3 separate regions of the Homo sapiens genome follow, and regions 1 and 3 are each linked to region 2. Evidence: promoter capture Hi-C in human tissues and cell types (Jung and others, 2019). All regions are on one chromosome and are shown on one strand. The core of a region is centred on a gene start or on the middle of the fragment in contact, and the rest is flanking DNA. Distances in the headings are between cores, read along the strand shown.

Region 1 (3,818 bases), core at 459-2,958, 300 kb before region 2:
TTGTTCCAACAGCCAATTGTGGGATAAAAACCTCTTCCTAGGATAAAAAAACCTTTAGTAAGGACTGTAGGACAATTAAATAAATCAATGAGTTGATTGATAGTGAAGGGTTGAAAAATGACTAATTTGTGAATTTAGGATGCAGACTAGTTACTGACTTTGCAGGACTTCCTATGAAATTAGTTTAGCTGCATAGATGTAGATTCAGTTGGCCACTATTACAGCTGGTGAATGTGGCTTGGAAATATCTGTTATACCAGGTTCTCAGGGAAAAGTGCCTGTGAGCCACATACCTAGGAATAAAAATTGAAGAAAGTCTTTCCATATGAGTCATTCATTTGATATTTAGCTCTGTAATCTTATTTACTGACTGATATTCTCATTTTAAATTACTTTTTTTTTTTTTTGCAATGTAAGTGCTTAATTCATTTTCTCTGAGTGGTAGGAATTTATATTTGTTGCCAACCAAATGTTTAAGGTAGGTAAAGCAAACTGAGTGTTAAGTTTATAAGAATCATTTTGATAAAAATTCTAAAAATATTTTAAAGCTTTTTTTTTCTTTCTTTCTTTTTTTTTTTTTCGAGACGGAGTATTGCTCTGTTACCCAGGCTGGAGTGCAGTGGCGCAATCTCGGCTCATTGCAAGCCGAGTTTACGCCATTCTCCTGCCTCAGACTCCCGAGTAGCTGGGACCACAGGTGCCCACCACCACACCCAGCTAATTTTTTATATTTTTAGTAGAGACGGGGTTTCACCATGTTAGCCAGGATGGTCTCGATCTCCTGACCTCGTGGTCCACCCACCTCGGCCTCTCAAAGTGCTGGGATTACAGGCGTGAGCCACCGCACCCGGCCTTTAAAGCTTTTAAAGATATATTTTCTCTGGTTTTTAGTTTGCAATGAAAATGCTTTTAAATGTCTTATGTACCATTGTTAGATTTTTTAATCTTCAGGAGAGGGGAGACTTTTCCCTTGATTCTGAATTATAAAGTAAGATTAACTTTTTGCAAATTTTCTTCTCTGAATAATTGTATTTTACCTAAAATCGGGAGAGAAAGGATCACCATTTGATATCATGTTCATAGTGATAATTATAAAAAATAAGAATTATCTTCTCTACTTTTAGTTGAATACCTATACTGAAAATATACAAAGAGAGAAGACCCTGACATTCTGAGCTGATGAAATAATTAAAACACACACACAGGATCACTGAAATTTAGAGTTAGTAGGGATCATATAATCTCATTTTTCTTTTCTTTTTTTTTTTTTTGAGATGGAGTCTCGCTCTGTCGCCCAGGCTGGAGTGCAGTGGCGTGATCTCGGCTCACCACAAGCTCCGCTTCCCGGGTTCAGGCCATTCTCTTGCCTCAGCCTCCCGAGTAGCTGGGACTACAGGCGCCCACCACCATGCCTGGCTAATGTTTTGTATTTTTTTTTATTGGAGATGGAGTTTCACCTTGTTGGCCAGGATGGTCTTGATCTCCTGACTTGGTGATCCCCCCGCCTCGGCCTCCCAAAGTGCTGGGATTACAGGCGTGAGCCACCGCGCCCGGCCAATCTCATTTTTCAAACTTAAGTAATGTACTCCTATTAAAGAAAGACATTCTTTTTGATTTACAATATATTAGAAAGCTTTTGGTTGCAAGTGACAGAAACTCAACTTGAACCCATAGAGAATTGATGCACATAATTTTAATTGCTTGCGGGATTGGGTTAGCTGTGAATTTAGCTAATCAAATAATGTTGCCAAAATTCTGTCTGTCTCTGTGTCTATCTAACTATCTATCTGTCTGTCTATCTATCTATGTATCTACCTATCTCTATTTATCTTTTCATCTATCTACTCTGTTTACCTGCCCTTCCTTGCATCTATTTATCTGTCCATGTATCCATTTGTTCATGTATTCATCTATCCATGTATCTTTTGGCCCTGTGCTGTGTTGGCTTTATTTTCTTGCATGCTTTCTTCATGTGCTGAGAGTTTCTACTTGTTAACTGTATGTGGGTCTTAAACTTCTGATATTAGAGAGGTGCCTTCTTATCCATATCAGTCTTCCCCAGATTACCCTGGTCTCACCTGGGTCACATCCCAACTCTGAACCAATCATTGTATTCGGGAGAGTAGGGTTGTTTGACTGTTTTGTTGGGGCACGTAGCCCATAAGGTGATATATCATTGGGGAGGGTACATTCCCAAAAGAAAGTGATGTGGGCAGACCCAGAAGTTCTAGATGTCTACCATAACTAGTGTTGACTTCCTTTTATTTTAATGTTAGTGAAGTGTGGAATTCTTAGAAGTAGAATAAATAAAAGCAGATATAATTTAATCATAGTTACAACATTTATGCAACTGTAATGCCAAAATACATTCTCAGTTAATTACGAACAAAATGATAAAACCACAGCCAAATGCAGATTTACAGCATTCATTAAAACACTCTTGCAAAGTAGATATGGTTCTAACTATCTGAAAAACAGTATGGTAAGTCAGCTGGCCTTTGCTACAATTTGGCCTATAATGATTTCACTTCTCCCACTGGGTCTCTCTGAACAATCATGAAACTTATTCCTCTAGCACAGCATACCAGCTTTCATTTTTTACTTGCTATGAAGGCATATATGCATATTAAATTTACGTCTTTTATTTTCTCATTAACACAAATATAAACCTTAGAACTAAAATTGCAGGGCAGTAGTTGGTAATAAGATGGTCTTCCCAGTAACTGAAAGCAATTTCTTTCACTTTCTTTTGTTTTGATTATGATTATTGTGAAAATATAAAATTAGAACATTTTATAGAACAAAGTAAAGATCTTCAAAACATACTTGTTTTGAATTCTGTGGGCTCTCAAACCTCAGATAAATGCCATTGTAGTCCAGTCTCTCCCATATCTAAACTGCAAAGCCAACTGATTTACATGTTTAGTGCATAGATTTGAGTTATTGTTTTCTTTCAGAAGTGGTAGGTTTTCCTTTAAGCAACTTCTTTTATACCATGTGTTGTGAATGTACAGAAAATTACAAAATATTTTGTCCCTTCCAATTCTCAGTCAAATTTGAAGTTAAAATCATATGAAGCAATTCTGCATTTTAAGGTTCTCAGATGTTTTCATAGCTGGAGCAAACTTAGAAATACTAAATAACTTTGGGCAGACTCTTCATTTCCTTACCATGCCAGACCCAAGCGAACTACTCACTGTAACATCAGAGTAGAGGTTATTGGAGGATATCACTTAGAGGTGTCCAAAATCTCCCGTTTTGTTTAATAATAGTCTGTTAATCTCTTAATCATCTAAACCATTGCTTCTCAAAAGAAGATGTTGGCATTTGGTGGTGACACTTTTTTGTTGTTAGAGGCTGTCTAGTGCATAGCAGGACATTTAACATCCCTGAACTCCAGACACTAAATGCCAGGGCCACCCCCATCCATGTGATGGAAAATCTATTCCCACACATTTCCAAATGCCCCTCAAGGGTTGGCACCACTACTTGATTAGGAGCCACTGTTGTGAACCCTTTGAAATTGATTTCTGTTTATGGTGAAGGGCCCTAGATAGGACAGCCTTAGGCTTCAACCCCAGACCTACTTTTCTAAGAGGAAGACTTTAGGTGCATTATTTACTCTCTCTGTAAAATGGAGATAATGTCATTTACCTCATAGTGTTCATTAGAAAATTAAAGGAAATAATGCGTGTTTCCTTATCTTTTTAGTGGTAATTTTCAGTAGTTTACCATTTTACCTTGAGCATCATCAGTGCCTTAAATGTAATCACAAACTTTGATAGGCATTTCCTTATCCTGGTAGATGGGAATTAAGT
Region 2 (3,943 bases), core at 1,313-3,812:
GCAAAGACTTGGAACCAACCCAAATGTCCAACAATGATAGACTGGATTAAGAAAATGTGGCACATATACACCATGGAATACTATGCAGCCATAAAAAATGATGAGTCCATGTCCTTTGTAGGGACATGGATGAAGCTGGAAGCCATCATTCTCAGCAAACTATCGCAAGGACAAAAAACCAAAGACCGCATGTTCTCACTTATAGGTGGGAATTGAACAATGAGAACACTTAGACACAGGAAGGGGAACATCACACACCGGGGCCTGTTATGGGGTGGGGGGAGGGGGTAGGGATAGCATTAGGAGGTATACCTAATGTTAAATGACGAGTTAATGGGTGCAGCACACCAACATGGCACATGTGTACATATGTAACAAACCTGCACGTTGTGCACATGTGCCCTAAAACTTAAAGTGTAATAAAAAAAGAAAGAAAGTGTATTAGGTTGATAGCTCCCAAGTGATACAGTTTTAATTCTTTGAAAAAAGATTAAAAAATCACAATGTACCTAATTTTGAAAGTAAAGCTAAATTATGAATGTAAAGGACTTCCCATTATGACCTTTGTCCCCAACTCATGAGTGTGTATATGTGTTTTCTTTCCTTTTTTGACATTTAAAAAATTATTTATTTTTTAGAGATGGGATCTCTCTGTTGCCCAGGCTGGAGTGTACTGGCATGATCACAACTCATTGCAATCTCCAACTCCTGGGATCAAGAGATCTTCCCGCCTTAGCCTCCCAAGTAGCTGGGACTACAGGCATGTGCCATTACACCTGGCTAATTTATTTTATTATAATTGTTACAGCCAGGCTCTCCCTATGTTGCTTAGGCTGGCCTCAAACTGCTGGTTTCGAACTCCTGGCCTGAAGTGATTCTCCTGCCTCAGCCTCTCTAATAGCTGGGATTACAGGCAAGAACCACTGCACCAGGCAACTCTTTTTCTTTTTTGTTTTTTTTTGTTTTTTGTTTTTTTGTTTTTTTGTTTTTTTGTTTTTTGAGACGGAGTCTCGCTCTGTCGCCCAGGCTGGAGTGCAGTGGCACGATCTCGGCTCACTGCAAGCTCCGCCTCCCGGGTTCACGCCATTCTCCTGCCTCAGCCTCCCGAGCAGCTGGGACTACAGGCGCCCACCACCACGCCCGGCTAATTTTTTTTGCATTTTTAGTAGAGACGGGGTTTCACCGTGTTAGCCAGGATGGTCTCGATCTCCTGACCTCGTGATCCGCCCGCCTCGGCCTCCCAAAGTGCTGGGATTACAGGCGCGAGCCACCGCGCCCGGCCTCTTTTTCTTTTTTAATGAAATAATAGAGCTAGTAGAAAATAGTTTGCTTTTTAAAGTGCTTACTTAATAAAATAAAAAGTGGGCAACTCGAAATAAAAAATCAAACAATATCTAACATGTTTAAAAGATTTTTAAAAATCAAAATATAAAATAATATCAAAATTTAAAAACTGGGATTCTGTTCCCCAAAGTTCTGTTCAAATCTGTTAGATTTATCTTCCCTTGACCCTAAGTAATATCTTGGGCAAGCCCTAGAGCTTCTTTCCTGACCCTTAGTTAATAAGATGTTATCTGGTCACATTCAGTCACAATAATAGACTCATTTTAGTAATAAACATCTTAAGACTAGTAATTAAAACTCTTTACTTCACACCAAGTTTCCTCCCCAAGCTTGGCCTGTTCCTGGCTGGCAGCCTGAAGTAGGGAAAGGAGAGATATGGTGACCTTTTCTTTGTACCTTTCTAGCTACCCTCTATACCCTGACCCTACATACATAATTGAGCTGTGGCTTCTGACTCTACTGGGTTTGGGGATGAGAGGCATTGAGAGTAAAATGAAGGAGTGGTTTTAATTAATGGCACAGCTAAAACTGGATTTTGTTCTCTCTGCACATGGCAGATGTTTAAAGCTCATTCTTTCTTTTATGCAAGTTTTTACACCATCCAGCCTCATTTGTACCTCTTGAATTTTTGCTCAGTGGCCTATCACCATTCAGGATCAAGACAAAAATCAATGAGCACTTATTGTGTGTCATGCACCCTACAAAGTGCCAGGATATTTATCCAAACTCCTGGCAATGCTAAACACAATGCAAAAAGACATATTAGAAAACGAATCTTATTAACTTTAACTTTTCAACTGTATTTCATCATAAAGTCTTACTTTACAAGATAATTGCTGTTGTGAAAAAGGGAAAGGTCATGGTCTCATTTCCCAGATGTTATTTGATATATGCTATAAATTATATTACCTCCAACATAGTCTGCACTTTGAACTTAGAAAAACAATCTTCAGACGGCATGCATTCTAATTCTTGAAATAAGTATGCCCACAAACTGTAATTTAAGACAGAATAGGTATGCTTCTCATGTTTTAATTCAGTTGAATTTCAGAAGATCTCAGGAATGTACAGAACGAGAATTAAGAATTAATTAATAAGAATTAATTAATTGCTTGACATAGTTAGGTGATTTCCTGAACTTTAAGCTTCCACATCACAGTATGAAGTTGGTTCTAAGATAAGAAATATAATAAATTCTCGCCCAAGGACAGACCTGAATCTCTAGCTGCCTAGAGGCTGACTCAACTGAAATCATGGCGTTTGACAGCACTTGGAAGGTAGACCGGAGTGAAAACTATGACAAGTTCATGGAAAAAATGGGTAAAGACTTTATTTCTTTGTGGCTCATTCTTTGCTTTCTTACAAACATTTTTCTTTCTAACTCCTAAATCTCTAGGAGATTACAGATAGCTTACAGATAGCTCCTGATGTGGTAGAGAGGATCCAGAAGATGTTCAGAGGAGGGAAACCATATTCTCCCTTCTTACATTAGGAAGAATCCACTATCTCACTAATGGAAGAAAAGATTCTTTGAGTGCTGTTCTCTGAAACACACCAAAAAGATCCAGAAATGTTTCCTTCCCTCTTTAACTGAAAAATGACTTTTTTTGTTGTTTACAGTAAGAAAATGGCAGCGTGTAATGATAACTTCCAGATCTGAAAATGTTAAATTCTAGGAGATGGAAAAACAAAGACCATATAAGAAAGTAATGGAAAAGGTTCTCTTAAAATTTATAGCGCTGAATAAGTTAGATTTAATTCTGATTTCTTCTAACTTAAAAAAGTTTTGGAATAATCTTGAGAAGCTGTGTAGTTTTCTCCAGGGCGTTTAATTTAACTGATTTATAATTTGATACCAATACTCTGGCAGCCCATATACTATACAAGATAGGCAAACAAATTTGTGTCATTCCCCTAAAAGAAAAATCTGCATCAATTATAGCTTACAGTTTAGGAACTCTAAGTTTAAATTTATAAAAGTTGTAGATTCTTATAGTGATTTTGGCTTAATATTTGCTAATTTTCTCATTTTTGTGTCAGAAAGAAATGCCACAAGAAGCAAATAGAACTATAAAGTTCAAAATGTTAAAGCCACTAAGAAAAACAAAGGGGCATTTAAGAAAAAAGAATACTGTATATGTGGAATTAAAGATGTGCTTCCTTATAAATATATGAATATACATTTTAATCCTTCATTTGATATTTCTAGAATTTGATTTACTTAACACTGAAATGAACAGTTTGTTAATCTTATTAAGGTTGCTCAGCTCTAAGATTCTATAATTCTGTACTCTACTTAATTTTTCTCAAGTTATGGAAAAACAACTTTAATCAGTTCTCTTGATCTGATTGAACCTGAACTTCTGTAGAAGCAATCTGAATGTTCTTGTGCAAAGGCAATGCTACCGAGTTTTCTTCCCACCCTCAAAATAAACAAACAAAACATAACTTGGAAAAATAAACACTTCCTATGGGATTTGACTTTATTTTCTCCATTGTCTTACCTTTTACAGGTGTTAATATAGTGAAAAGGAAGCTTGCAGCTCATGACAATTTGAAGCTGACAATTACACAAGAAGGAAATAAATTCACAGTCAAA
Region 3 (4,085 bases), core at 147-2,646, 350 kb after region 2:
TAGTACTACATAGATTTTGGGATCTGTCACCCAAATTATTTGTTACTCTGTGTGCTGGTCTTTGTCTAGCTCCTTTAGCCCAATGACTGAGCGATATGTGGCCCATAAGATAAGTATGACAGAACAGTGGTGGGAAAGAGTCTGGTGTACTCCTGGAGGTGCAGAGGGTGGCCTCACGTGGGTGCAAGGTGTGTGTGACAGGTTATTGAAAGTAAGGTTGGATTACTGGGGTAGAACCATATTGAAAAGAGTTTTGAATGCCAGAATGTAACACTTGGCTCTCATCCAGTAGTGATGAGAAATTATTATTGGTTTGTAAGCACTCTAGGGAGATTAGTCAGTGTGTAGGATGGACTAGACAGGAGATGACTGAAGATAGAGAAACAAGGAAACCATTAAAGTTCTGCAAAAACAACGTGATGAGAGCCTGGATTAGAGTTATCTGTAATAACCCCAGGAAGGAGGTAAGAGACAACATTTGAAGCAAACTGCACCTTAGTGAGAGATAGGGTATGTAGAGAAGCAGAAGTCAAGGATGAATCTAAAGTCCTAATAATGGTGATGCTGTTGGTAGAAGAAAGAAACATAGGGAAAGAATCAAAATCTGGGGAAAGAAACCCTAAAATCCCAGCTCTCTTTTCAAAATTTTCAGTATTAACATTGATTGTATGTGAGAACATTGCTAGCAAGTATCCAAGCAAAGGGATGTGTTAAAATCAATCAAATTGTTGAATTAAGACTAGAAGACAAATGAAAAATCAAGGCTGAACATATCAATTAGGGATAGATGTGGGAGAAGTCATAGGTGTGGACAAGTGAACTGTGAGGGAAGTCAAACCTAATCTGGCAAGAAATCCAGTTTTCCACAATATTCTGGGTCTAGGCCTCTGCTGGGCCAGTGGCCAAGGATGGGCAAGAGAGTCAAGGATGGACTGTATATTCACAAACAAGAAAGCCTGTTATATAACTTGGCTCTAAAAAGAGCCACCACTACAACTAGGTATGGAATCTCTAAGGCCTGAGATACAATACCTGTGTGAGATTTTCTATCTCATCCCACTGAGAAATGCTACAGATGCCACTTGCTACGGCTGATTCCCTTTGAGCACTAAAATTTACTCTCCCACTAAAGGTGTTGTAGAAATGCCTCTTTTCTTAGCTCAAACATAATTATTGTCCAGGTTTAATATTTAGCTATGTTTAACTCTCATTCTCAACTCTCTTTTCAAAAATTAAAATCATATGACCAAGATAAGCAGGTTGATGATTTAAGTCAGCGTCCTCAGCTGTATAATGGGAACAATAATACCTGACTCCTGCTTTTGTGAAGAAAGAAGAATCTTAAAACAGGTCAATGAAGAATTTACTTGTGTTAAACTATGTTCTGAGTGATGTTAGATTGCTTATTTCAGTGGGGTTTGTTTAGGTTTTATGTCCAGTGGCTACTGATTGGTGTAGCCTATATAGCTTTTATGTAACTTCAGGACCAAACTAGGCTTCTTTTAGTTCTGATACTAATTAATATCCAAAATTGTGGTTAGGAAAATGAAAGGAAAGAAGAAAAAAATGTGGCTATTTATGGTGGGTTCTTTTGTGGGGAGGGAATTTTTTGGCTATGAACTGGCATTTGCCCAACAGTATTCCGAGTTCAGTAAATAACTCAACACGCATGGGTTAAATTTCCAATAAAAACATGAAGCTTAAAAAGTAAGTGGAAAGTACTTGGCAAGATACATATTTACATTTGGTGAAGGGAAATTTTTATGGTGGTTAGCCAAACCTGACATGCACAGGGATTAATTCATCCTCACTCATCACAGAAACGAAAACTGCCAGTATCATATCATACGTGCTATGCTGTGGCTTTCTCTTAAAAATCAGCACCACCGTGAAAGGAAGCTGACCTCTGTGTGCACACACTTAGTGCAAGTGTGTGCCTTACTAGAATCATTATACGTATATATGTATAATAAAACTACTTTTTAAAATGCTGAGAAAGTCTTATATTTGAGGTACTATAATTTTAATAATAGTATAATAGAATCCTTGAATTAATAATTCTATAATTGATGGAATTCATATAATAATTAACAGAATTCACATAATAATATAGAATTACTAATTCTATAATTCTGACTTACTCAAAAATTCAAACGTTTTTCACTCTACAGATGCTCCTCAACTTACAATGGGACTATGTCCCACAAAACCCATCATAAATCAAAAAATACCATAAGTCAAAAATGCATTTAATGCATGTATAAGCCCATTGTAAAGTTGAAACATCATAAGTTGAGTTATAATAAGTGGGGACCATTGGTGTGAAAAAGTGGTGTGAATGGGGAGAAAAAGCAGGTGAGCAAGCGGGGATAGCCAGCTTACAAAATATGTATTTCTGATCCTGTAATATCTAATTTGTTTCCAATTTTCAAATGAAAGACACTGAAATTATTAAGCACTCACTATGTGATGAAAAGTAAACTGAACTTTGAGGAGATTTTTGTAGCTTGCCCAAGGTCACAGAACTAGATTTAAACTTAGAGATGTATAACTTAAAATTGTAGGCAGTGGGCAAAACAGTTTCACCCTTGCTGACTCTGTAAACCTGACAACAATCCTAAGAGGACAATGCTAGAAGTGATGGAGAAAAAACAAAGCTAGCACCTAAGAGACAAATTTGCTCGTTTCCCTTCTGAGTTAGTTTAGACAAACTGCCCTTACAGTTTGAAGGGCTTGGAGGAAAAGAAAAAAATACATAAAAAGTGTTTTATTTTCCTATTTGGGGAAATGTAAGGGAATCAGATTCTGCTTGAAATCTCAGAATTCCCTTTTCTTTTTTTTTGAGACAGGGTCTCCCTTTGTCAGCCAGGCTGGAATGCAGTGGCATAATCACAGTTCACTGCAGCTTCCACCTCCTGGACTGAAGCCATCCTTCCACCTCAGCTTCCTAAGTAGCTGGGACTACAGGCACGCACCACTACACCCGGCTATTTTTTCTTTCTTTTTTTGTAGAGACAGGGTCTCCCCATGCTGCCCAGGTTGGTCTCAAACTCCTGGGCTCAAGTGATCCTCCCACCTCTGTCTCCCAAAGTGTACAGGCATGCATGAGCCTCTGCACTCGGCCTCAGAATTGTTTTTATAAGTATAGTTAAATATTATTCTGTCTCCTCTCTTTCTTTTATGTTCTGAGGAAGTTCTCGTCAGAAGTTAGGATAACTCCTACATAGAATTTCTGTGGAGATTAAATAGAGTTCTACATGTAAGCCTACGAAGCTGTTCAAGACCACTGTAGAGTACTATGACGCTCACTGGGACCACACTATGAGGTCTATCCCTGTAGAATTATGTGATGTTGAAGAAACCATTATTTTCCTTCTTACACTTTCTCAAAAGAGGGAATGTCCACCCCTCTCATGGATGGGAGAACATAACACTTCTGGATCTCTCCTGTCACTTCTCGGCATGGGAAGAGTAGCTAATTTGATTAAAGAGAGACTGAGTCATTGAGCCATTATTTTTCAGAGACCATGGTTACTGCATTGAAAAGGAAAAGCTGGCCAGGTCTTTCTCTTACTGCCTCAGACCACTGTGTTCACAGATGATGCGCTCACTTGTGCTTCAGGACCCAGAAAGTAGGCAAACCCTGCCCTAGCAGGCCCAGCTAGCTTTTGTTCTCCAGGCCAGCTTTGCTGTCTATGAATGAATAAGTCAGGTTGCCCTTTCACTGGAGACCCATTGGCTTTAATGTAATAAACATTAATTCCTAAAAGATATGGAAGCGCCATTCTAGCCTCAGGTCTAAGTCACATTGTCCAGTGCATCTTCATTGTGAGTAAAACTGATCATTTCAAGTTAAAGCCTAAAAGGATGGTGGGATGTAGGAGAGCTACTCTAAGCCTTCAACATTTGGGACCTTTGAGATAGTTGCCCAGTCCTCTGCTGTCTTGAAAACACTGGCATAACATAACCATCCATGGATTCTGGCTCCTTGTTCTTAAGAGTCATGGGTTCGCTTTGTTTTCAGTTTAAAAGACACATAATAATTATCTGCTTATTGTTTAGAGTAATTTACTAAACATTAGCCA

What was found. The method cuts DNA at HindIII sites, captures the fragments that hold promoters and counts their contacts. A contact is called where the count stands out against the background at its distance.
Region 1: a fragment that was not itself captured here is called in contact with the fragment with the promoter of FABP2 in region 2 in 2 of the 25 tissues and cell types used here (aorta and mesenchymal stem cells).
Region 3: a fragment that was not itself captured here is called in contact with the fragment with the promoter of FABP2 in region 2 in 1 of the 25 tissues and cell types used here (spleen).

What each region holds. Positions count from the first base shown.
Region 1 is chr4:119,619,627-119,623,444 of GRCh38, reverse strand. The region is part of intron 1 of PDE5A (phosphodiesterase 5A); the gene reads left to right. Among named protein-coding and RNA genes, the nearest start is that of PDE5A, 7.3 kb to the left of the region's middle. The HindIII fragment of the contact is 4,889 bases long and covers 1-3,818 here.
Region 2 is chr4:119,320,757-119,324,699 of GRCh38, reverse strand. It overlaps FABP2 (fatty acid binding protein 2), which reads left to right and starts at 2,562. Exons shown (of 4, transcript NM_000134.4): 1 at 2,562-2,664; 2 at 3,858-3,943. The coding sequence starts at 2,598. The HindIII fragment of the contact is 4,027 bases long and covers 1-3,185 here.
Region 3 is chr4:118,971,201-118,975,285 of GRCh38, reverse strand. The region is part of intron 1 of SYNPO2 (synaptopodin 2); the gene reads right to left. The region is part of intron 2 of SYNPO2-AS1 (SYNPO2 antisense RNA 1); the gene reads left to right. Among named protein-coding and RNA genes, the nearest start is that of SYNPO2-AS1, 11 kb to the left of the region's middle. The HindIII fragment of the contact is 4,055 bases long and covers 1-3,423 here.